7 separate regions of the Homo sapiens genome follow, and all the other regions are linked to region 6. The links are contacts of gene promoters, found by promoter capture Hi-C in human tissues and cell types (Jung and others, 2019). All regions are on one chromosome and are shown on one strand. Each heading gives the region's core, a stretch centred on a gene start or on the middle of the fragment in contact. The rest is flanking DNA. Distances are from core to core; before and after follow the strand shown.

Region 1 (3,724 bases), core at 662-3,161, 370 kb after region 6:
CCCCATTTCCTCTGAGAACACAGTGCAGCTTTGGGGACTTGAGGACAGCAGGGCTCTTTGAGGAGCTCCTGCAGCCAGCAGCACTGGAGGTGGCAGCGTCTTCCCCACAGCAGCCACAAGGTTCTGGGCTTTAGGTCTTCCTGGCAGTGGATCTCAGCGCTGCACACCAGAGCAGAAGTACCTGCAGGAACTCTTAGCAACCAGGCTTGGACAACACTGGGCTCCCAGGCATCCTTGGGTGAGTGTTTGAGAGGGCCAGAGTTTCTGCACTTGGCAGGTGGCTGCAGGGCTCACAAGTGGGTCTTCAGTGCCCAGGAGTCCCCATTGGCACAGACACCTGCAAAGGCCTGAGGAGGATGCCCTACTGGACAAGACGTCGTCCGCTGAGTGCAGTGGTGCTGGGGAAGGGAGAACCGAACGCTGGCAGCAGTAAGGACATCCTCACAGCAAACATGGTTCAACCTGCTGCTGACTGACATATATCCACTCACATTCCAGGTGCAGTTTCTGTTGAAGCATTTTTTGAAAGCAGTGTAATCTGACTTTCCAATACACCTGACAGGCAGCAAAGCACCACTGACACAGTGACGCTGGGACCTCCCCAAGGTAGCTAACTTGTGAGCACTCCCATTTCATTCCACAGGAAGTAGGGAGTGTCTGTCCCTGACAGCAGGGAGCACAGGGTCTGGTGAGGAATAAGGGGCCCCTGCAGGACCTGGGGTGCCTGGCCCACTTCGGCACCACCTCCGGGTGCCTCTGTTACCTGGTGGGCAGAATCAAACACCCAGGATGGGAGACTGATCCATTCCAGAAGACTTTGCCCATCTTCCTCATCTGGGAATGACAAGAGGCAGGGCTAGGGTATGGAGAGCCCATGCAGGCCCCTAGCCTGGTTCCCCTCCCCCAGGAGTTTTGTGGAAATGATTCTGGAAAGGTTGGAGCCAAGATGTGCCCCTGCCTGATCCACTTGGCCTCCTCCCGAGGGTGCACGGGGAAGAAACAGACACTTCCCTCTGAGCCACTGAAGCATCTACTCCTCCAAAGGACCAACCAGAGAGGGGCAGAGCTGCTGGCCACCCCCAGGGTTTCCTCCCAAAACTCGGAGCTTGTCCTTCTCCCAGGACGGGAGCCAGGCAGCTTTATTGTCCGGTGGGAGACGACACTTTTCCAGGAGGGCTCCTTCCTGCACTCTCCTGAAGGCGAACCTAACCAGAATCCAAGCCAATCCTAAAGCCAGGACATATGAAAAGTCCCTATGTTTCAACATTTGCATAGAATATAAACTTAAAGGTGAAATTTTGCCCATGTAAAGTCCTGGGCTGTCTACCCAGGTGGAGGGCTTGGTGTCCTTGTTGATGTCATTATTTTTCAAGCAACATCATAGACTCTGCAATGCAGCAATAGAGAATCCACTTTGAATCCCAATGCTACATGAGCTTCGTTCTTTTTTTCAATGGATTTTCATGTGGAAGCAGAGCAGACTCAAATTGACATATTTTACTGCCATTTACTAATCTATTGCTTAATAAAAGCCCGTTTTTATATTATTTGATCATATGATGCCCTTCAAACTATTGTTTTCATTTGTTGCCTTTAATTTACACCCTTCATATCCCACATCTCTTTCATTTTGACCATGACACAATAGTGACATGGCGGTTGGGCTATATCACGTTGCCATACGCTTAGTGTACTGGAGGTTTTTATTTGATTTTAAGCTTCTGGGAAAAAATATGGGACTTATTTCAGTGAAGTGTGAAAAGTTCTGTTTCTCTGTGTGCTGTCAGTGTGCATTTTGATCACATGACAATTTCAGGTTTGCTAATCCCTGATAGCAGAGATCATGTCCTGCCTGGAGTCAGACAGGTGCCAAACATGCTGCCCCAAAGCTTCATGATGCCAGCGGGGTGTGGGTATTGTCCTCACTTGCCTTTCTCTATAACCGCATCCACTCTCTCACCCTTGATCACTTTGGTCCCACCACAGTGGCCACCTTTCCATTGCACCTGCCTTTATCACCTGCCTATGAAGAGAGCCTGTGATACACAGTTTCATGTGGAACTGACTGTCATAGCATAAAGTTAATTAATTTTTTTTTTTTGAGACAGAGTCTCACTCTGTCACCCAGGATGGAGTACAGTGGTGGGATCTTGGCTCACTGCAACATTTGCCTCCTGGGTTCAAGCAATTCTCCTGCCTCAGCCTCCTGAGTAGCTGGGATTATAGGCCATGCGCCATCATGCCCGGCTAATTTTTGTATTTTTAGTAGAGATGGGGTTTCACCATGTTGGTCAGGCTGGTCCCAAACTCCTGGCCTTAAGTGATCTGCCCACTTTGGCCTCCCAAAGTGCTAGGATTACAGACATGAGCGATCGTGCCTGGCTTAAAGTTAATTAACTAGTACCCTCATCTATTTATTCCAGCAAATATATACTAAGCACCTACTGTGTGCCAGGCACTGAACTAGATGTTGGGCAGTCAGTGATGGTTGGAACACATCTTCTTCACGGATCAGAAACTCTTCCTGGGGAGACACATGAGCTGGATTATGAAACACAATGGAAACGCAGTGAAAAATATAAACAAGGTTGTGTGAAAGAGGACCAGGAGAGAGTGTGCATGTGTGGGTGTGTGTGCATGTGTGTGGTGTGGGTGTGGTGGCGGCATTGGACAGTGGGAGGAAACCACTTTGGCAAGGCTGGCTGGGAACCCATCCCCAGAGAGAGAGAGAAATTTCAGCTAAGCCCTGATGTGGGAGGAGCCAGGCACAGAAGGAAGCACATTTTGGCCAGAGGGAGCAGCACACAGAAAGTCCTGGAAGCACAGGAGACATGGGATGATAAAGGCAGGTGCAAAGGAAAGGTGACCACTGTGGTGGGAGCAAAGTGATCAAGGGTGAGAGAGTGGATGCGGTTTTAGAGAAGGGCAAGGAGTGTCATTTGAGACTTCTTAAAAATCAAGCGTTTTATTTTAGAATAGTTTTAGATTTACAGAAACATTGCAAAGATAGTACCAAGGGTTCCCATCTACCCTGAACCCATTTTCCTCTACTGTTAATATCTTACATTGGAATCATGCATTTGTCACAACCAACTAACCAACAAGGACACACTATTATTCAGTATTCACAAGTTGTCTTTTTTGAGCCTTTCCTTACTTTCTGACTACAGGATACTCCAGGCTCAACAGGTTTATTTCTTGCCCCAGCCCTAGAATCGGTCAATTCTCCCAGGGAGCCCTGATTCCTTTTACTGGAAAGTGATATTAGAAACCAAGATGTGGGTGCTAGGCATGCTTGATACCACTGGGATGTCATTGCTTCTAGGCCCTTGCAGCCAAAAGCGCTTAGAAATGTATGTGTACATATATGCATACCTATACTTATTTCTCCATTGATCCATCTGTATCTATATGAGGCTAAACATGAGTTTGATGTTTCCAGCTCTAATTCCGTATCACACAAATCATTCCAGCTTCCTCCCCTTGCTTATCTCTAATCTCCCACTGCAACGGGAAGAAACCTGGCTCCTGACATTCTGCACCCATTTACTTAAGTGTCCCATTCTATATCCATGTATGGTGGTGCAGAGTTGCTAACCCCTAACCCCATAAGAAACATCGCTACCATCTAAAGCAGAGTGCTTGTGAGCAGCTCTCTTTGACTGTGGTCTTACAGACTCCACTCCTTTGCAAAGTCACTAGGGTCAGCACCCTGCACCCTTCA
Region 2 (3,569 bases), core at 31-2,530, 400 kb after region 6:
ACCCCAGCACATCACCTCACCCTGATGGGCTCCCTGGCCTCTGATCCCTGCACAGTTGGTGTCCTCCTGTGCCTCTGGGACATGTGGGATGGACCCAGGCTGCTCCCCTCTGCGCTCGCCTTCCTGAGCTCTCCCACTTCCAGGGGCCCTGAGCGTGCTCTTAGGCTAGTGTGACATCATTCATGACAGCAGAGTGAGAGTTCAGATTCATTGTCTTTTCTTTCATGCACTTTATCTTTCAGCCATGTCAAGAGCTGGTTTGAAATGCAAGGTATGGTAGGAAAAATCTGTTCAGCTATCTCTGGAACAAATAGAAGGAATTGTGCACTTTGACAGCCACGTGTAGGTTCTTTTGATGTCCAGCACCTTCCTCCCCTTCAGGGTGTGAGGCTGGCACACCTCTATTTGGGACACATCAGTGTACATTGATCTATTAAAACCCATTGGGCTTAATGTGGCTCAGGCAACAAATGCCTCAAGCACACTGCAGAGTTTGTGCACAGCCTATTGTCGAAGTGGGATTACACCGTGGGGTGGATACCTCTTTCAGAGGAGACGTAGCCAACTCTAGTGGGTGTTTATTCTCAGAAGAGGTCAATAGATGTTATGAAACACTTGCAGCTGGGGGAAGAGATTCCAAAACATGTGGCAAGCAGCACGGCTCTCTCTGCCTGTTGGTATCACGGGGCAGGACAAGGCATCCATCCTTCTGGACAGCATATGTATGATAGAAAATAAAGTCACCCTGTTTGTTCTTAGCACAGTCTGAGCAAGACTGAAGAAGATCCTCTGAGAATCAAACTGAGCAGATGGCTCAGGGTAATGTTATTTGACTTCCTCTAGGGCCACCCCAAGAAGTTCAATACAACACCATCAGTACAGCTCTTCTTGACTGTCACTTTATCACGGATTTGAAAAGCAACTTAAAATGTTTTGCCCTATCTTTATTGGACTATAAGCTCTGAAATTATCCATAAAATTGTTCCTATCAAATGCAAGATAGTATGACCTGCAAAAGACCAGTAAAATTTCAGAACTATGTCTTTTATTAAAAGTATAAGGCAACCGAGGGTTGTCTGGCTCATTGGCTTAACTTTTTTTGTGGTCACTAAGCATTATAATTTCCAAAATGAATCCATAGTGGAAAAGTAGGGAAATAGAAAAGAATTAAAGATCTGAGCTTGGCAGGAAAACCCAGGAACAGGAAGGGGTTAGGCCCATAGGAACCAGAAGTATGGCAGGACAAAGGCCTTCAGGAAAGCTCATCACGTCTGCTAGACAAAACTGCATGGGGGAATTACCTGGCTGTGACACTGTAGGATAGGTATGCAAGATGATACCACGCGGGGAAACTGGGCGAAGAGTACCTCGGCTCTCTCTACAGTACTTCTTACAATTGCATGGGAATCTTCCATTATCTCAAAGTAAAAGGTTTAATTTAAGAAAAACTGCACAGGCAGTGGGTGTACGGTTCATCCCAGTCCCTTCCCTGCCACCTGTGCATCTCTTGCTCCATCTTCAAGTTCTTAGGAAAAAGAGAGCGTTGTTAGGAGTGTAGGAGAGGCTGGACCCCTTCAACCCCTGTGTCTCTGGCTCATCGGTTAGCCATGCTGGTTGGAGAGAACTGTCTTGCAGGGATGGCTGCACCTGAGGCCGTGTTTTTGACCTGGCATCCTCCCCTTCCCAAGGTAACCTGCTGATGAGGACTCATTGCCAGCGGGCACGAATGCTGTACAAACAACACCTGTTCTCACATCTTAAAAAAGGATCACAGAAGTTTGAGACGCAGCCACCTAGATGGGAGACACACTGACAGCATGATCCCAGCACTCCCAGAGAAAAGAAAAGACCCCAAATGTGGAATATTCGTATTTCCTGTGGGGATTGTGAAGGGAGATCTTGGAATGTGAAAGCAGCCCATTGTTCAAGCTCAGCACAGATCCCAGTGAGGATCTGCATACAGTAGCAACTCAATAAACATTGCATTTGAATGAATGAATGAATGAATGAATGAATGAATGCTGGATCCCACAAAGCTGTCTTTAAATGCATCTCTAAAAAGAGGCTAGAAAGAAAAGTCTTTCACAGTTCAGAGGCCATTGTATCTTACTGTTTCCCCATAACTTGGGCCTTTGTGATCCGACAGAACTTTTAGGTCAATGCTTGCAGTCAAGAGGAAGGTGAGTACCACCTCCTCACTGAGGATACCTTTTTACAATTGGAGGGGTGGCTTCAATAGGCATCCAGTCTGGTACCCATTGTCACTAAGGATGCCTCAATCTTAATTGCATAAAAAAGAAAACAGCTGTGTTTGCAGTCATCTCCCAAAATGCAAATGCTCAATTCTAAATAAATGCTTTCACAGGTTAAGTTGTGCAGTCTTGGGGCTACATCTCACAACTAACCCCTCCCAGCAGATCCTGAGGGACCTTGGGGGTCAGGAACAGATAGGCATCCGTCTCTTTCTCTGGGGTTCCTCCAGAGCTGAGGCTGGTCACATGTGGTACCTGCTCCCCATTTTTTTAGGATAAAATGCTCTGTCTGAGACTGTTAAAAAAACAGTTAACAAACTGTTAAAAAAAACAAAAAACAAAAAACTAGACAGCAGATGATGATTGACCATCCTTCAAATTCCCATCAACATTTGCTATCACAGGACATCAGGAATATTGGTTAATGGTTGGTCAGGCCCCTAGAGAGATGGCCACCAATTAAAGCAAAAGCAGTGACATAAAGAAATTCAACTCATATTATGACCTGTAAGTAGGGTGAATTATTACTAACCTACCCTTCAAGTCACCATTCACTGGTTTTGGGGAAAAATAATTCAATGTTCATTCTATTTTAATAATCAATTCCATCTGATAATTTCAAAAAAATGTTTTGCCTCTTTACTGGAGAAAATCAAAACACTATTTCTGAGATGCACGCCCTCTCTGCCTGGAGTTTGTTCCAAGATGCTCCTCCCACGTGTAAGAGGAGTGATGTTGCTTGTGTGGACCTGTGCTTGGAGGGGTGGGGCTGATGGTCCCTGAGCTTGGAATTTTTGGTGGCTGTGTTGCAGGAAAGGCGGTCTCGATCCAGACCCCAAGAGAGGGTTCTTGGATCTCCAGCAAGAAAGAATTCAGGGCAAGTCCATACAGTAAAGTGAAAGCAAGTTTATTAAGAAAGTTAAGGAATAAAAGAATGGCTACTTCATAGACAGAGCAGCCCCGAAGGCTGCTGGTTGCCCATTTTTATGGTTATTTCTTGATGATATGCCAAACAAGGGGTGGATTATTCATGCCTCCCCTTTTTAGACCATATAGGGTAACTTCCTGTCATTGCCACGACATTTGTAAACTGTCATGTGCTGCTGAGAGTGTAGCAGTGAGCCAACTAGAGGTCACTCTTATCACTATCTTAGTTTTGATGGGTTTGGGCCAGCTTCTTTACTGCAACCTGTTTTATCATCAAGGTCTTTATGACCTGTATTTTGTGCTGACCTCCTGTCTCATCCTGTGACTTAGAATGCCGTAACCATCTGGGAATGCAGCCCAGTAGGTTTCAGCCTCATTGTACCAGCTCCT
Region 3 (3,613 bases), core at 559-3,058, 480 kb after region 6:
TAGAATTTAAACTTTACTGAAAAACATAAAAGAATCCCTGAACAAATGACAGACCTGCATGTTTATGAAAGGGAATGCACAATGTCACAAATATGTCATTTCTCCCCTAATCAATCCAATGCAATTCTCACTTACAGTCCTGGTGGGCTTTTCTTTGTGAAACTTGAGAAACTGATTCTAAAATTCACTTTTGATGAAAAACTAAGAGAGAGGGTGTTATGGGCTGAATTGCATTCCCTCGAATTTCCTATGTTGAAGTTCTAACCCCTAGTACCTCAGAATGTAACTGCATTTGGAGATAGGGTCTTTGCAGAAGTTAAGTTAAAATTGTGGTCATGATGGGGTGGGGCTAATCCAATATTAATGAATATTATAAGAAGAGGAATTCACAAACGGACACATACAGAGAGGAGATGATGTAAAGACACAGGGAGAAGGCCATCTACAAGCTAAGAAGAGAGGCCTGGAACAGATCCTACCCTCATGGCCCTCAGAAAAAAGCCAACCCAGCCAACACCTTGATCTTGAACTTCTAGCCTCCAAAAGTGTGAGAAAATAGATGTCTGCTGTTTAAAAATTTCTGTTATTTATGGCAGCCCTACTACAATAGGGTTTATAATGGCAGCCCTAGCAAACTGATGCAGAGGGTCTTGTGCAATTGCTATTGTGAAACTATACAATTTAAACAGCCTAATATTAGCCCCATGATAGACAAACAGACCAGTGCAACAGAATAGAACATCCAGAAACAGGCCCATTAGAAAAGTAAACATTTTAATCTGACAATACCAGTGCTCATACTCTCCAGGCACTTGGTATGTACCTTGGCAAAAACGGAAGATGTGCATGTCTTTTTACCCAACAATTCTCCCTTTGGATGCGTATTCTAGAAAAACTCTCATGTGAACAAAAGGTAATGTGTGTATGATGCTCATTCTAGTGCTGTCCAACAAACAACAATAAAAACCACCTAAATGCCCATCAATAGAAAAATTATAATATATTCACTTGATGGAATTGCTTTTCCAATCTGAAAAAAGTCTTTATTCATCTTTGTTTTTGAAAAATATTTTCACTGGGAACAGAATTCAAGATTGGCAATTTTTTTCTTTCAGTACTTTTAAAATGCAGCTCCAATGGCTTCTCACTTGCATTGTTTCTTCTGAGAAATCTGCTGTCACCCTTATCTTCCCTCCTCTTTATTTTGTCTGTCTTTTCCTTTTGTCTTTTTTGTATGACTGCTTTTAAGATGTTCTCTTAGTCATTGGTTTTAGCCAATTTGGTTAGTATGTGCTTTCGTGTAATTTTCTTCACATCTTCCTATACTTAAGGTTCTCTGTGCTTATTGGATCTATAGGTTTATAATGTTCATCAAACTTGGAAAATTTTGGCCATTATCTATATAAATATTTTTCCTGGCCCCTTCCCTTTGGTGATTCCAATTACATATATATTAAACACCTGACATGATTCACAGCTTATTGATGTTCTGGAGGTTTTTTTCTGTACTTTTCCCTCTTTGTTTCATTTTAGATAGTTTCTATTACTAGATCTTAAAATTTACCAAGTTTTCTTCTGCAGTGTCTAATATGTTGCTAATCCTATAATTTATTTTTTGTCTCATACATTGTATTTTTTTCATCTCTAGGAGTTTGTCTTGTGTCATTTTTATATCTCCCATGCTTCTATTTAACTTTTTGAACATATAGAATACAGTTATTATACTGATATTTTAATGTCCTTGTCTGCTAATTTTAACATTGGTGCCAGTTCTGGGTCAATTTTGATGGACTGACCTCTCCATTGAGGGTTATATTCTTCTGCTTCCCTGAATGCCTGGTGTTGGGTGCTGAAAGTTGCTGTAGTCCTTTCAATATTATTGAGCTTTATTCTGGGATGCAATTAAGTTACTGGAAATAGATTGATCCTTTTGAGTCTGGCTTTTAAGATTTTCTAGGTAGGACCATAACAATGCTGAGTCTATTTCTACTTATTCCCCACTGATTAAGGGAAGGCTCTCTGTGTATTCAAACCAAATGTCCTGTGAATCATGAAGTTCTTCAGTCTGGCTAATAGAAACAGGCACTGTTCTCAGGCCTTGGTCAGCTCCAGTTACTTCCAGTCTTTTTGAGTAGTTCCTTCCCCAAACTTGGGAGGTTTTCATGTGATCATAAGTACTCACTGGAACCCTCAGTGGTGACCCTCTGCACCCTCTGTATGCCTCCTGGTCATTCTTCCTGTGCAGTACTCTCCTTGCTGGAATTCTGTCCTGTGAGCTCCTGCCTCTGGGATTTCTCTATACTCTCAGTTGTGTCTCTCCAACTCAGGGACTCCACTGAGCTCTGCCTGGGTTCCCCCTTCTCTGAACAGGAGCCTGGAAACACTATCAAGGAAGACAGACTGAGCAATTGGAGGCCTCATTATTGTTCATTTGCTATCTCAGAGGGTTCACTGCCCTTCATTGTTTGATGTCCAGTGACTTGAAAACATTATATCACATATTTTGTCTGTGTTTTGATTGTTTCAGGGTAGAAGGTAAATAAAATCCCCATCACTTCATTTTGTCTGGAAAAGCAAGTGCATTTGATAGAATATTGCAGCTTTCATAAGTGAACTAGATTAATAATTAGGATTATATGCAGTAACACAGACCTTGACATTAAATATTGAGTAAAAATAATCCAATTTGAAGAAAAGTGTATTCTGTCTGAAACTGTTTACATAATTTCAAAACATGCAAAGGTATCCTGTATACCAGTTTTATACAGAGAAACATAAACATATGTATGAGAAACACCTAAGCCAATGTAAGGGAGATGATGCATCAGGAAAGAGAAAATTGGAGGAGAGGACTAGGGAATAATAAAATGGGGTTTGAACTTTATCTATAATGTCTTATTTAAAATAAAAACATCAAACAAACATGTAAAAATGTTAGTATATTAGCATTACTTAGAGCTAATGGTTGACTAAAAGAATACTCACTATATATTTTTATGTCTCCCAATTATTTCTTAATTTAAAATATCTGTTATTTAGGTTATTAGCAGCTTCTACTGTGGAGAATAGATATTGAATTTGCCTTTCAGGCTCACCGCCCTGCTCACCATCCTTGCTCATATTTGCATAATTAAACAGTTCACAGAGGTGTCTTCCTCGGGAAAAAGAAAACCCTCTTCTAAGAAGGAAATATCCAATAATATAATTCTAAGGAGTTAAATTGTTGTGGGTGGTTATTGGAGATTTTTTTTTAAATGTAGGCAGAGTTCTAAATTCTCATCTGCAAAATAGAAAAATCTGTTTTGATAAATACTCATTTAGACTGACCTGTGCATATCTATTATTGCTCATTCTTGTGTTTTCAGGGAAATTAGTGGTGTGTGTGTGTGTGTGTGTGTGTGTGTGTACATGTGCACATTTTCTTGTTCAAGGATAACAGGAATAGAGAACCTCAAAGACTCAGGAGGATTTGTAGGCTCCACTCTCAGGGTGATATAAGAAGGAATTGAATTCCCTTGCTGTCCATTCTGTAATATTATTTAATATTAATTCACGAACATCCCAGTGCATGAATTGATGTTAGGGCTATTGCATGATTATCGTGGGGGGCTAG
Region 4 (3,793 bases), core at 615-3,114, 450 kb after region 6:
GCTCTGCTGACTGTTACAAAGGAAATAAGTAGTAGCACAAAGGAAACAAGACATAGTTATTCTCAAAGGGCTGAGAATCTGGTTGGAGAAATCAGACAGATTCACAGATGGGCAACAAAAGCTGATAAGAGGGCCGGGTGTGGTGTCTCATGCAGGTAATCCCAGCACTTTGGGAGGATGAGGTGGGTGGATCATTTGAAGTCAGGAGTTCAAGACCAGCCTGGTCAACACAGTGAAACTCTGTCTCCACTAAAAATATAAAAATTAGTGGCAGGGTAGTGGCATGCGCCTATAATCCCAGGTACTCAGGAGGCTGAGGCAGGAGAATCGCTTGAGCCTGGGAGGCGGAGGTTGCAGTGAGCCAAGATCACACCACTGCACTCCAGCCTGGGCAACAGAGTGAGACTTCATCTCAAAAAAAAAAAAAAAAAAAGGCTGATAAGACAACAAAATAAAAGACAATGCAGTGTAGTAGAAATGACCCTGGGGCTCCTTTTTTCCCCACTGTATTTTTTTTATTCTTATGGATCTCGGGGGTAGGAAGGTAGTTCTGTTACATGTCTACGTTGCATAGTGGTAACGTCTAGGCTTTTAGTGTACCCACTGCCCAAATAATGAACACTGGTCCCAACAGGTAATTTTTCAGCCCTTACCGACTTCCCATCCTCCCCACCTTCTGAAGTCTCCAAGGATTCCCCTGTATGTCCATGCGGGCCCACTGTTTAGCTCCCACTTCTAAGTGAGAACATATGATATTTGACTTTCTGTTTCTGAGTTATTTCACTTAGGAGAATGGCCTCCAGTTCCATCCATGTTGCTGCAAAACACATGATTCCATTCTCTTTTATGGCTGAATATATACACCACATATTCTTTTTCTTTTTCCTTTTTTTTTTTTTTTTTGAGACAGTCTCGCTCTGTCACCCAGGCTGGAGTACAGTGGTGCAATCTCAGCTCACTGCAACCTCCACTTCCGGGTTCACGCCATTCTCATGCCTCGGCTTCCCAAGTAGCTGGGACTACAGGTGTGCACCACCACACCCGGCTAATTTTCTTTCTATTTTTAGAAGGAGTTTCGCCATGTTGGCCGGGCTGATCTCAAACTCCTGACCTCAGGTGATCCACCTGCCTCAGCCTCCCAAAGTGCTGGGATTACAGGCATGAGCCACTGCGCCCGGCCCCGCATATTCTTTATCCACTCATCTATTAATGGACACTTAGGTTGATTTCCTGACTTTGCTATCATGAACATTATTGGAATAAACATAAAAAGATGGAATGCTTCATGAATTTGTATGTTATCCTGTGCAGGGGCCGTGCTCATCTTCTCTGCATTGTTCCAATTTTAGTGTATGTACTGCTCAAGTATACACCAGGACCCTTGGGTTCTATGTGAATTAACTCTTTTGCCTGTTAAGTCTCGATATTCTTGCCTACTAAATGGGGTGTCAGACTACATGATCTCCAAGATCCCTTTATGGAGTACATAATAATTAACTTAGGGAGGTGCAGAAAAAGTGTGTGCACAGGTGGTTGGGCCATTCAGTGTGTGACAGAGGCTGGGCTCTGCAGTGTGGGTCATAGTCAGAGATGTTCACAGGGCAGGGCCCCGGAGGCCACTGGAGGCCATTGCCAGCACAGAACATGGAAAGCCCAGATGCCCGAGGTCGCCAGGAACAGGACATGTCTACCAGAGAGGCTGGAAGGTGGGAGAGAGAGCACTTGGCTGGAGTCACCTGTGCCTTCCCAGGGAGGACTCTAGTGTTTCCACTTTGTCCCACTGACACTGGGGAGACTGGAAGGATTCCAAGCATGGGATACGGGATGAAAGTGGCACTGCCAAGGGGGTCTGACTGCTCCTAATGAGAATGGCCCTCACATGGGGTCTCCTGGTGCCACTGGCATTGCAGTGTCTCCAGGGGTTTTCCCATACTGGAAGGAACTAACAGGTAAAGAAGATTGAGGCAAAAGGTGAGAACCTCAAGGAACCTGAAGCTATTTGATTTTCTACCAGGGGGATTTCTACCCTAACTTGCCATCTCCAGCAGTATAGAGGTTTTGAGCTGTTCTTGATGCCTTGGAGTGATGTAACAGACTGGGGCACCTGGAAAAATCAAGTCAGCTTCTTTGAGAAACCTCTACAGGAAAATCAAACAACACTCATTCCCAAAACAACCACCACAAACCAGAACACCATCCTTTTTGGCCACAGAGGACAAGAAGGAGGGGGTTTTCTTGTAGTCAGATCCTTGATTTATCAACTGCCTGAATTGAAGTCATTCTCAGAAATAAAGGTGCAAACTAAATTGCAAAGGGGAGGCAAGTCTTTAACCCCAAGCATTGTTTTGGGGAAGACGGATCTCTTTGCCTAACTGAAGGGTAATAAACATTTCTTCCACAGCTGTTGAAACGTTTATACCTTTCACCATTGAGACAAGAAGACTCTGACAAAGAAAGCAATCAAAATGTTAACAGAAGGACTGGATAATGTTATATTGACTTCTTTGGAATTACTGACCTTCCATGGAAAGAGAATGGCATCTTCTAAAAATTAAACATTATTCTAAGTCTAGGACACACTTCTTTCAAGCAGCCTAGGTAAGACGATTTAGGAAGTTAGAAATGCAAACATTAGCTCAATAGATACAAAATAATTTAGTCTTATCCTTTCAATTTTTCCGATAAGTGAAGTTAAGGTGAAATGTCTAACTAATTCTCACAAGAAAGCAGGAATGCAGGGGGAGAATTCCATGAAGGAAGCCTTTGATCATTGCACCGCAGGACAGACGGGCATTCCCTCTGCGCTGACCGGCGGGAGTTAGAGTCCCCACATTGTGCGGTGGCAGCCTCTGCTTACTCATCAGAAGCTGCCTGGCTTTCCAAGCTTACTCCAGAAACTTGTAGAAATTTGAGAAAATGCAACCACCTCTGCTAGCAAACTAGTCCCTGGGACCCCCTGAGTCTCTGGCATTTCAATCACCTCCCACCTTCTGCTAGCATCTCTTCTGAGTTCCTCTCACTAAGGCCCTGCCACGGAAGGCTGCTCTACACCCAGTGCTGGTCCCTAATGCTCACTCAGCTTCGGCCACAGCCCAAGTCACCACTGGCCAGGCCTTAGGAGTAGGATGCCATGAGTCCAGCAGGCAGATTTAGCAGCAGAGCTTCGGGGCACCTGCCTTGTGCCGAGCCGCAAGGTCCACGGAGCTGAGCCTTGTCCTCTTGTTGTCACTTCTAGTCCCTAATAGGGGCTCAGCAAACATTTTTTGAATGTGTCACCAGAAGAAAGCCTGAATGCATGCATTAGAGTTGGAAGTGAGAGAGAGGGAGGGGGAATCATGGCTACGTAAGGATGATTTAGAAGAAGTGCCTGCCTTCAAGGAGCTTAGAATCTGGTGGTAAGAATAAGAAAAAATTATAATATAAGGTAGTATAGTAAATTAACTGCCTACATTATAGAAACAATGATAGGGATGATCTCATTACCCTTTAGCTCATATATTGCTTTAATTCTAAATCTTGGGATATGGTTGTAAGATGGTATTTGAACCAAACCTTGCACTAGGGAAAGGAATTCTCACAAGCTGGCGTGTGCTGCCTTCCTTTAGCCCTAGCCTGTGGCAGACATCACTAATTGATTTCTCCATAATTGATTACTGCAAGGCAGGGAAGGAGATACCATGTCTGAAAGTGCCTGTTCAATGTCTGATGAAAAGCAGGTGACTAATTCAAGTTCTTTTTATTTTTCCTCTTCTTCCTTTCCCAGAAAACCAAATAAGGGTCCCAGTGACATTTT
Region 5 (3,344 bases), core at 410-2,909, 420 kb after region 6:
TTTCAGCTGCCCCTTTACATTCCACATCCCTCTCCCCTGCTTTAGGTTTCCCATAACACTTACTACTGTTGACATACCACACACCTGACCTATCTGGCACTTTCTTCTCTGCCTCCCTCCCAAGAAAGTGACATTTCTGACGGCAGGAGTTATTGTCTGTTTTGTTCGGTAGCTCCACTGCCTAGCACTGTGCATTGCACATAGCAGGTCCTCAATGAATATTTTTAAATGAATAAATGGATAGACGAATGGATGAATTTATGGACAGATGGGGATGGATAATGGATAGATAAATGGTTGAATGGATGGATGGATGGATAGATGGATGGATAAATGGATGGATGGGTGGATGGGTGGATAAATGGATGGGTGGATGGATGGGCAGATACATAAATAGATGGATGAATGAGTGTGTATCATTCCTCTAACCCAGAGAAAGCACAGTTGGCTGCATAAGAAGTGCCTAAACTCGAGAGTACTGGGACCACCAGCGGAGATTCTGATTCAGTAGGTTTGGAACAGGGCCTAGGAATATCATTATAATAGGCTCCCCAGGGTTCATCATATACAGTGAAGTTTGAGTTCAAGGGATGACAGAGAGGTCCACAAAAGGTTGGCTTGAACATCTGGCTGAATGATATGTTATGTACACATTAGACACTCAGGGAACATTCTCTGGGAAGGACGGGATTTAAGGAGAGGTGACAGTGGCCTTACTTTGTTTGAAGAGCATGTCGTCTGTCATATGTCTTCCTTCAAGCTTTCACAAACTGTTTACGCTATGACCCAAATTCCACCTGGAAAATGCATCAATAGAGCATGTACTGTAGCCTCCTCCATCCTCAACAGCGGAGGTCATTCATCTCCTCACTTCTTTGCTGGGAAAGTGATGGGAACTTGCAGCAGCAGAGACTCCTCATAACACATCAGCCCACCTGTCACCTGCTGTCATAATCAAACGTCACCTTCAACCAGCACCTTGCATGCTCTGAGCTTGACGCACATTTTTGCACTGCCTTTTCAGGAGTCACTTCATCCAGTTCCCTGGCAGTTACTTTCAAGCTAGAAGACACTAGCTCCATGTTCCACAGTATTTCATGCATGCCTGTCTCCTAGCCTTGCCAATACAGTGTCATGAAGAATCTGTGCACATAAAGGTCCAGTCATCTTTCATCACCAGGGCCTGAAATGAGTGGTCATTCATTAAATGTTTGCAGGCAGGAAAGAGAAAGTAGGGGGAAGGAAGGAGGGAGGGAAAGTGTAATAGCGTGAAGCCACAGCAGTTTAGCAGAAATAAGACACAAGGCACTGGCCAGGTGCAGTGGCTCATGCCTGTAATTCCAGCATTTTGGGAGGCTGAGACAGGAGGATCACTTGAAGTCAGGAGTTTGAGACCAGCCTGAGCAACATAAAAGTATCTTTAAAAATTAAAAAATATATACAAGCATTAATTTAACAAAGATGTGAAATGATAAGCAGTAGCAGAGGATAGCGAGAAGAGTGGAGGCACAGCTGTTTAATGGATGCTGCCAGCACCCCACCAGCATCACCTAGGTACTCTCCATTCATACACATGCCCATGGCTTGTGACCTTCAAACCCCTGTGCCTGCTGCATGAAAGAGTTCAATGGCTGCAGGGCCAGGCATGGCTGACCAAGCTGGGGAGTTAATATCCCAGGGCTGCTCTCAACTATGATGGAAGGCAGCGAGTGGGTGAATACCCAGCTTCCTCTTCCCCCAGCAGAATGTAGCGGATGAGCCCGAATGCCCTCGGGGCGGGGGGGTGGTGGGGACCTGCTTACAAGAACTCCCTGCCTTGGTTTCCCACCCTCCCCCACCCCTTTCCCGACTCACTTGCCATGGCTCTCTAGGATCACCTCTAAAATACATGACTTGCACTCACATCTTGGTTTGGGGGTCTGCTTCTGGGGGAGCCCAACCTAAGCCAGTCCCCAACTGGAATAAGCTAAGTCACTTGCACAGATGTGAGACACGTTAGAAGCTGCAATCGTCTCACATTGTCTCTGAGGCCTCTGAAAATGTACAGAATTAGTAAAAACCCTGCTATTGACTAAAGAAAGCCTCAGATCTGGCATGACGGCTAACCAGTTATAAAAATAGTTGAAAGTAATTGCACGCTTCCAACGACCACCTCCGCCCCCGACAGGGTAATGCTTCAATTCCCTGCTCTGTGCAGTGATTTCCTGTATCCTTATTTTCATCTTCTGACTCCTCTGCTGCTGTAGGAAAAGTTCCCTTGTGCAGCTCAGCGCCTTTTTCTGTTCAACCAGTTCCCAAGCATCACCCACTCGGGAGAGCTGTGCAGGAGAATCAGGCTCTGTGCGTCTACACAGGGAAGTGACCCCGGCTGAAAAAAAATATTAACAACTGAAATGTACACAAAATGGGGTACATTTTGAGTGTGTGGGCATGATTAGTTATTTAATCTGAGTTTTTCTATGAGAGCTACAGACACAAATGACCAATTATATAATGACCCTATCCTGCTTCAAACTGATTTCTTGGCTTGAGGTGGGGGAGGCTGGCCCTGTGCTTGCCATTCTTCCCCTCACGGCATGTGTCCTTCATGGGGTCACCACCTCTTCCCACGTCTGTGCTCCTCTCCAGAATGGCACCTCCCGAGAGCAGACGTAGTGTCTTGCTCACCTTCGTATTCTCCACAACCCAAGCAGTGTCCAGGGTCATTCAGGAGATGCTGGCTGAGTGAAAGCAGATGGGTGAATTCATGGGCTTTTGCTCATTTTCTCTCTGTCCTTTAGGTGTCAGAAGACATGCACTTCCAGGAAATTCTTTTTCCAAGAACCTGCCTTTATAGGGATGCTTACATTTTAAAAGGATCATTCAGAGGAACATAAAAGTTTATACTTGCTTTTATTCAGTCTAAGAGTTGTCTTTTAACAGAAGAGTTTAAACATTTACTTTGCCATATTAACTGATTTGCTTGGTCTTAATTCTGTCATCTTAATTTATGATGTTTATTTATGTTTCCCTCATGCTTCCAATGTATTTCCTTCCCTACCTTTTGCCATATTGCCAGGCAGTACTTGTTCTCTTTTTTCTTGATGATTTGTGCATTTTCTGTTTACTTCACTAACAACGGTAATGCTTAAGTTTGATTTGCATATATATACATATATATATATAAATCAACATTTGTATAAACTGCATCCTTTAGCTTTCTTATGTAGGATGAGATGTTAACATGTAGCCTGTTATTGGTCTTTTACCTTTCTCACGTAGGATGAAAGCATGTAGCATGTTATATTGTTTTTTTTTTCTTTTGCTCTATCTCCCTTCCAAGCTGTTGGTAAAGTCAGTGAGAA
Region 6 (3,768 bases), core at 1,249-3,748:
ATGCCGCGTGAAACTTGCACTATGCTTTCCTCCTATTCATCTATCTTATGTCAATTTAATTCTCGGACCCAGCCGGGACCCCTAGAGGATGGAGGTGGAGTTCTGCCCTTACACTGAAAGCACAATCTTCCAAAAGCAGAGACACTCTTCAAAACTTTGAAAAGAGACTTTTAGGTCCTAGGGCAATGGAATCTCGTTTTCTCAAAAAGCCCTGCTTGCTTACCCTCTCGTTTTCCCCCAGGCCTGTTTTCTGGGACAGGGTGGGAGGCCCAAGGAGACAGCCAAGTTCAGGCCCCAAGCACCCAGCTCCTCCTCCCAGGGTGGGAGCCTGGCCAGAGTTCCCGACCCACCCCGCCCCATTCCCCGCTGGCGCTTGGTCCGCCCCTCCCCGTCTGGAAGCCTCCAGCAGCCCCGCCCGGCGGAACTAGGGGACGGGTGGGGGACGTCGAAGGGCGAGGGCGGTGACCCCGGGGCCAGAATTCTCGCAGGCGCCTGGGCCGGGTGCCCGGCCGTGCGTGAGTGCGGAACAAGTCTGGGCGCGGGGAAGGGCGTGGGTGCGGGCCGTGGGTGGGTGCGGGGCAGGGCGCGGGGCTGTGGGAGGGCGCGAGGCCGTGTGTGGGTGCGGGGCTGGGTGCAGGCCGTGGGTGGGCGCGGGGCCGGGGCTGGCGGGGCAGGGCGCAGGCTGCTGCAAGGCGGCCTCGTGGATTCTGGCCCCGGACGCACGAAGCGGGTTCTACTTTTTAAAAAAACTGCGTTGCCTTTTCCTTCCTCTACGTTAGCATCCTGTCCGGGGTCCCCGGCCCATGTGGCCTTTCTTCCAGCGACAGTACACTTAGCTCAGAACGGATTGACACCCACTCTGTGTTTCCACCGGGCGCGCAGGCTCTGCAATGCGGAGCGCGTTCTCTGAAGGACAGGCCCCGGAGTCACGGCTACAGCCACAGAAAGCGGAAACCGAGCTGCAGTCCAGAGGGGATCCCCGTACATTTCCAGCGGGCTCAGACACAGGGTCCCCCACAAGAAAGAAACAGGACAGAAAAAGTCAGGACACGTATGCTGTGGAGAGTCGAGGTCTCGCCTAGATCTTGGGTGTGGGTAGACGCAGCCGCTGGCAGTTTTCCTTTCCAGCGTCTCTGGGGAGCCTGGAGATGTCCTTGGTGCCGATGTGACACGAAGAGTGATTGCGCCGCCCTGCAGAGGCGGTGGCGGGACGCTGCGCTCGGGCTGGGAAAGGCCGGCCCCAGGGCGACCCCTCCGGAGGCCCCCGGAGAGCAGGTGTGCACCTCGCCTCCCGCTGGGCAGCCAGTTCAGGAGAAAAATGTGAAGCTTTTAGCTAAACAAAATATTTCTTTCGTTAAGGGCTTTCTCCACACGGAGACTTTCTAGCCACGTGAGACTTTGACCTCCCAGTCCCCCAGATTCAGCGCTGGGACCGAGCGTCTGCTGTTATTTTTAGTAGAAGTATAAAAAGAATCTCGAAAAGTTTTAGCTCTGGAGAAGGCGTGAATACAGCTGGTGCCTTCATACACTCCACTTGAGCCGCTCTTTAAGAACTCCAGGAGATCAGAAAGCAATACGAAAGCCAGAGCATTGCACATGGGATGGGCTGGCGGGTGGCCTTTGGGTCCCTATCTTATGGACGATTTTTGTAAATGGGGCATTGGAGATGAGTATCACCTGGATCACATTTTTAGGTTGAATTCCTCCGTGGGGGGAACTTTAGCAATACGCATCCAAATAAGAATGTAGATTGCAATAATTGTAGTAAAGTGTTTGCCAGACTCATCTCAGAAAAAGACATTATCAAAAGGCATTTATTATCTTCCTAATGCGTGTCTGGCACTGGGCAGACACTGTAGAATACTATCTTGATTAGAGTCTCAAGGATTTTGTACTTAAAGTCCTTTACAAATAAAAGTATTCAAGTATAATCTATTATAAAGACTCTTTTCTCCACTTTGGGGATATACGGTGTGGCATCGATTCATTGGTCATACCAAAACTGTTACTTCTGTTTTGGAGGAATTAACAAGGAAAACCCAGGCTTAGTAAATCAACATCGAAGTTCAGAAGTTCAGAGTAATTTGTCTTGGGAACAAAGTCCTCCCTAGAGCGAAGAGGCATTCACAGGAGCTCTTGGTGTTAATGGGATTATTCAAGATATACCTGAGACCAGATAAATATTTGATGATTTTGCCAAGCACTAGGGTTTCTTTGCAGTTTGTCTTTGGCTGACGTTTTCCCCCCGTGGGGTTTGGACTTTGTGGCTTCACCAGATTTTGCAAATGAAAGAAGGCTGGGGTTTCCCAAGAGTACACTTGTGCAGGAAACAACAGACTAGTGAGGTTTACAAGAGGGGGGTGTGTGTGTGTGTGTGTCTGCCTGTGGGATGGGGGTGGCACGGGGGAGAGAGAGATGTGGGTTACAAAGCTGCCATCTAGAGGCTAGAGGCTCCTTTCTGCAGTGTATATAATGCAAGTCTGCAGCCAGCAGAGCTCACAGTTGTTGCAAAGTGCTCAGCACTAAGGGAGCCAGCGCACAGCACAGCCAGGAAGGCGAGCGAGCCCAGCCAGCCCAGCCAGCCCAGCCAGCCCGGAGGTAAGGAAACGGTGCTCGGGCAGCAGCTCTGCTCGGAAAGAAGGCACGGCTTCTGCTCTTAAGCCAAGTGGTCTTTTCAAAGGCCTTCTTTAAAATCGCTCAGATGGGTGCTTTTGAGTCTGCGGGTCTGGTTTCTGAAAACCCAGGCTGCACGCAGCTGCATTGCAAAGTGCTTTTGCTAATTCGGAGGGCTTCACCTTTCTCTTCAGAAAGCAAAGGGCAGTTTTCTTAAGTCACTTGCAGAAGGAAATTTCCATGTGTATTTAGGAATCTGGTGTTTATTTGCTGTGTGGCTATTTAAGCTCCAGTAAGCAGGGGAACTTTGCAAGAACACAGACTATCCATTCTGCCTGACCAATTTGGCATGGGGATTAGCTTGGCACCCACTGTTTACCTGTTTTGCTTCTAGTATATCAGTTTGGAAACAGATAAAATTGGCAGTAAATACGTAATTCCAGAATGATGAACACTTTATTAAGAGGCATCCTTAAATGGAGCAGAAAACTGCTGAGAATCTTTGTGAGTCCAAGATGTATTTGAATTCAGTACTTTGGGGGATTTACCAGAGTCTGTAAGTCCGGAAGCTATAAACGTGAATGTTAAACACAGCCCGGTCTTCTCTTCTCTTGATGGCACGCTTGCTAATCTAATTTGAGTATTGTTCTCTTAGAAGGTGTTAAGTCCAACTTCAATTGGGGTTGGGGGAAGCACACACACAAATCTACTATTTTGCAATTTAAATATACTCTTCAGGTAAAATGTGGATTTTGTTCAATTTTGTTGGCATGTGCAAAGATTCAAGGAGTGACTGAGAGAACTTTGGAGTGAGGTCAGGGATGGGTGGTTAGCCAAGACTTGTAACTTCCAGGGAGAATGAGAAGTTGTAAAAGTCAGACTGGCTGTCTCTCTTTCTCTCTTCCTCTTTCTTTCTTTCTTTCTTTCCTTTTGCTCACAACAGGATTACTTAGTGTTTCAAAAGTGGGAGAGAGCCTCCTTAAATGGTTTACAGCCCTTTGAATGTATTTGGTGCAGTGACATCCCCTGAAACTTCAGTCTGCAAAGTCTCAACATGGTAACTTTGTTCTTTTCTTTTTTAAAGGCAGATGCTGCTTTTAGTGTCCCTTTATTTATTCCAGGAAAAATGTGGACATCAGCTAGGCACGCCTAGCA
Region 7 (3,571 bases), core at 934-3,433, 460 kb after region 6:
GCTCAGGGTCCGGAGTGGCTGACCCCTCAGTGGAGCAGGTAGTGCCAGGTACCCAGCCAGGAGGTTGTTGCCGCAGGGCTCCCCAGGGGCAGTCAGACACCCAAGAAGCAGGGCTGGGCTGGCTCAGTGCTTTCTTCAAGGTCCGCTTCGAGGTGATGGAGGCCTGGCAGCAGCCCATGGCCCCAAGCGGGGCTCCCAGGGAAGTGGCTGCAGGAGCTGGGCAGGGTCCCAGGCCCGAAGAGAAGGCCAGCCCTCACCCTGGGCCCACAGAGAAGGCCAGCCCTCACCCTAGGCCACAGAGAAGGCCAGCCCACACCCTGGGCCCACAGAGAAGGCCAGCCCTCACCCTAGGCCACAGAGAAGGCCAGCCCACACCCTGGGCCCACAGAGAAGGCCAGCCCTCACCCTAGGCCACAGAGAAGGCCAGCCCACACCCTGGGCCCACAGAGAAGGCCAGCCCTCACCCTAGGCCACAGAGAAGGCCAGCCCACACCCTGGGCCCACAGAGAAGGCCAGCCCTCACCCTAGGCCACAGAGAAGGCCAGCCCACACCCTGGGCCCACAGAGAAGGCCAGCCCTCACCCTAGGCCACAGAGAAGGCCAGCCCACACCCTGGGCCCACAGAGAAGGCCAGCCCACACCCTGGGCCCACAGAGAAGGCCAGCCCTCACCCTAGGCCACAGAGAAGGCCAGCCCACACCCTGGGCACACAGAGAAGGCCAGCTCCTCACCCTGGGCCCACAGAGAAGGCCAGCTCCTCATCCTAGGCCCACAGAGAAGGCTGGCTCCTCACCCTAGGCCACAGAGAAGGCCAGCTCCTCACCCTAGGCCCACAGAGAAGGCCAGCCCTCACCCTAGGCCACAGAGAAGGCCAGCCCTCACCCTGGGCCCACAGAGAAGGCTGGCTCCTCACCCTAGGCCACAGAGAAGGCCGGCTCCTCACCCTAGGCCCACAGAGATGGCTGCAGTATTGCAGGGAGACCCAAGCAAAGCCATCCCTGTGGCAGAGATGCTGACATTAACAACAAAGGCAGGAACTGAGACCCAGGTGGCACTCACTCATGTGGCACTCATTCCTGTGGCACTCACTCCCATGTCACTCACTCATGTGGCATTCACTCATGTGGCACTCTTGTGAGCCAGGTAGTCTTCTCCATGCTGGGCATATGATGACACATTGAACTCCTAACAATCCTGTGAGGGAAGTGCGAATAGCATCAAACCCCTCGCACAGATGAGGAGACTGTAGCAGTGAGAGATGAAGTAACTTGCCAGGCTAGCGTTCGTGGAGTTGGAATTTAAACTCGAGCAGCGTGGCTCCTGGGCTCATTCTCTTAACCCCTATGCTGTATTTTCTCATGGTATGGGGAAAGAGGAAGGAGGGAGGGAGTCAAAAGCCAGAGGCTGAGCCTGGGTTTAATTCGCTGGCAGGGCCCCCTCACACACACACCGCCAGCAGGGGAGGTGGCTCTTGTTCCATGTCCTGGCCCCAGGGCAGCAGTCCCGTGGATGGATTCTGGGCTGGGAAAAGGAGATGCAGGAGTTGCTGGAGGTATGTCTATGACTCTGTAAAGGGATGGTCTGAATTCCCTCCCAGACAGAGTGAAAGTCTCGCTGTGTGAGTGCCATGGACACAGCATGTGCACCCCTCCAGCCCAAGTGGTGTTATTGAAACAAAGGTCAGATCGTTTCCTATTTAAAAGCTTCTCCTGGCTCCCCATGTCACTCAGAAAGCTTGTTACCATGGCCCAGAGACCCCTCTGACCCCACGTTCTAACTCACCTCCCTCCACTCCCCTCACTCTGCTCCATCCTGTGGGCCCCCGAGCTCCCAGCTCAGGGCCTTTGCACATGGCGCAGCCCCTTCCTGAAACTCCCCTCCCTTGCAGAGCTGCATGGCTTACTCCTTTACTCAACACAGGTCTCTCCTCAAATGCCACCTTCTCAGGAGGTGCCTAGGACCAGCCTGTGCCAAGTCACCTTCTCCTTGCTCTGCTTCCTTTCTCCATGCACCAATGCCATGTGGAGTGCACACACTACATACAACACCTTGAGGGGTCCACACACAACACTGTGTCAGTTATACACACAACACCAGGTGGAGTCTACACACAACACTATATGGGGTATACACACAACACCATGTGGGGTCTACACACAACACCAGGTGGAGTCTACACACAACACCATGTGGAGTCTACACACAACACCATGTGGAGTCTACACACAACACTATATGGGGTATACACACAACACTGTGTGGGGTCTACACAGAACACCATATATAGTCTACACACAATACCATGTGGAGTCCACACACAACACTATATGGGGTATACACACAACACCATGTGGGGTCTACACACACCACCATGTGGGGTCTACACATGATGCCATGTGAAGTCTACACACAGCATGATGTGGAATCTACACTAACTTGTTTATTTGCTTGCTGTATATCCGCATCCCCCCCACACATCACTAGAACTTAGGTGGCACGAGGGCAGGAACTTGGATGTGTTCACTGCTGTAACCCCAAATGACTGCTGAATGAATGGAATGAATGAACACAAAGCGTCCTCCCCAGCTGCACATCTAAAGCAGGAGGAGCCCCTCTCAGTTGGCCCCTGGGGTGCCTGTATTGAGTTTCTCTCTGTGGATGCCAACCATACATGGCTGATGACGCTCCTGACAAAGCCCAGTGGAGGTTTTGGTTGCCTATTTCCCCTCTTTTTTAAGCTCTGTACCAAAATTGATTCAGATCATCAGATACAGGCACCCTGTTCCTACTTTGTTAACTTTTCTCCAAAACACTTCATAGAACCCTGAGTCAACATCCTAGCTACGGCTCCTATGGAAGTTCAAAGCAAGAAACAAAATTATGTCCACTTTTAGAATAATTATGTGAACTTTTTGTTCTTAGTAAACTGCTATAAGCTTAAAATGCATCAGCTTTCCCAAGCTTCCTATCTGGCCTGCTTACTGTGTAATTGCCATTTTTAATGGTAACATATTTTAACTGTATCACATCACTCTAGTAGAAGAGATTTGCAGCAATATTTACTTCTTTGGTCATATTGTTATCATGATGAATAAACGGGTATGGTAACATCAGAAGATTAAATTCTCTCTCTTAATGGAAAATTAACTCTGAAACCAGACATTCTAGAATTTCTGTTTCCTGGAGCAATGGTTCCTGATTTGTGGGCAGCAGAGCCCTGGGGGACACTCCAAGCCCCATCCTTCTTCAAGGAGTCTCGCAGTCATTGTAGGCGCCAAGTGCCTCCTGCATACTAACTAACAGTCTTGTGCACCAAGGCTTGACTGTCATGTAAATGTGTCCTCACAGGACTTTGAGATCAACAAGTTATGACCTCACATATGCTTTTGACAGTAGGTATTTTTCAATCAAACTGCACCTATTATCATGCAGAAGGCTCTCAAATAGCTAACCTCAAAGGGATCTGTGTGCTCTATAAAATTTAGAACAGCTTCTCCATAATTTGGAGTCTTTAGGAGAATACAATATATTCTAATGGAGATATTTATCATCAGAAGTTTACAAAGACATA

The links. The method cuts DNA at HindIII sites, captures the fragments that hold promoters and counts their contacts. A contact is called where the count stands out against the background at its distance.
Region 1: a fragment that was not itself captured here is called in contact with the fragment with the promoter of ACKR3 in region 6 in 1 of the 25 tissues and cell types used here (mesendoderm cells).
Region 2: a fragment that was not itself captured here is called in contact with the fragment with the promoter of ACKR3 in region 6 in 2 of the 25 tissues and cell types used here (dorsolateral prefrontal cortex and mesendoderm cells).
Region 3: a fragment that was not itself captured here is called in contact with the fragment with the promoter of ACKR3 in region 6 in 1 of the 25 tissues and cell types used here (lymphoblastoid cells).
Region 4: a fragment that was not itself captured here is called in contact with the fragment with the promoter of ACKR3 in region 6 in 7 of the 25 tissues and cell types used here (dorsolateral prefrontal cortex, heart right ventricle, mesenchymal stem cells and 4 more).
Region 5: a contact is called between a fragment that was not itself captured here and the fragment with the promoter of ACKR3 in region 6, in 4 of the 25 tissues and cell types used here (aorta, bladder, liver and 1 more).
Region 7: a fragment that was not itself captured here is called in contact with the fragment with the promoter of ACKR3 in region 6 in 6 of the 25 tissues and cell types used here (H1 embryonic stem cells, aorta, dorsolateral prefrontal cortex and 3 more).

Annotation. Positions count from the first base shown.
Region 1 is chr2:236,935,636-236,939,359 of GRCh38, forward strand. All of the region lies in intron 2 of COPS8-DT (COPS8 divergent transcript), which reads right to left. Among named protein-coding and RNA genes, the nearest start is that of COPS8-DT, 150 kb to the right of the region's middle. The HindIII fragment of the contact is 5,409 bases long and covers 1-3,724 here.
Region 2 is chr2:236,963,891-236,967,459 of GRCh38, forward strand. All of the region lies in intron 1 of COPS8-DT (COPS8 divergent transcript), which reads right to left. Among named protein-coding and RNA genes, the nearest start is that of COPS8-DT, 120 kb to the right of the region's middle. RefSeq lists an enhancer at 1,702-2,203. The HindIII fragment of the contact is 8,467 bases long and covers 1-3,569 here.
Region 3 is chr2:237,047,616-237,051,228 of GRCh38, forward strand. All of the region lies in intron 1 of COPS8-DT (COPS8 divergent transcript), which reads right to left. LOC105373950 (a long non-coding RNA gene) reads left to right here. Exons shown (of 3, transcript XR_007088140.1): 1 at 1-3,613. It overlaps LOC93463 (a long non-coding RNA gene), which reads right to left. Exons shown (of 7, transcript NR_135202.1): 5 at 3,328-3,613; 6 at 1,797-2,565; 7 at 984-1,351. Among named protein-coding and RNA genes, the nearest start is that of COPS8-DT, 36 kb to the right of the region's middle. The HindIII fragment of the contact is 8,637 bases long and covers 1-3,613 here.
Region 4 is chr2:237,013,937-237,017,729 of GRCh38, forward strand. The region is part of intron 1 of COPS8-DT (COPS8 divergent transcript); the gene reads right to left. It also overlaps the pseudogene RNU6-1051P. Among named protein-coding and RNA genes, the nearest start is that of COPS8-DT, 70 kb to the right of the region's middle. The HindIII fragment of the contact is 6,899 bases long and covers 1-3,793 here.
Region 5 is chr2:236,992,300-236,995,643 of GRCh38, forward strand. The region is part of intron 1 of COPS8-DT (COPS8 divergent transcript); the gene reads right to left. Among named protein-coding and RNA genes, the nearest start is that of COPS8-DT, 92 kb to the right of the region's middle. The HindIII fragment of the contact is 7,647 bases long and covers 1-3,344 here.
Region 6 is chr2:236,567,327-236,571,094 of GRCh38, forward strand. It overlaps ACKR3 (atypical chemokine receptor 3), which reads left to right and starts at 2,499. Exons shown (of 2, transcript NM_020311.3): 1 at 2,499-2,598. RefSeq lists enhancers at 1-859, 860-1,735 and a silencer at 509-558. The HindIII fragment of the contact is 7,550 bases long and covers 1-3,768 here.
Region 7 is chr2:237,030,444-237,034,014 of GRCh38, forward strand. The region is part of intron 1 of COPS8-DT (COPS8 divergent transcript); the gene reads right to left. Among named protein-coding and RNA genes, the nearest start is that of COPS8-DT, 54 kb to the right of the region's middle. The HindIII fragment of the contact is 3,540 bases long and covers 414-3,571 here.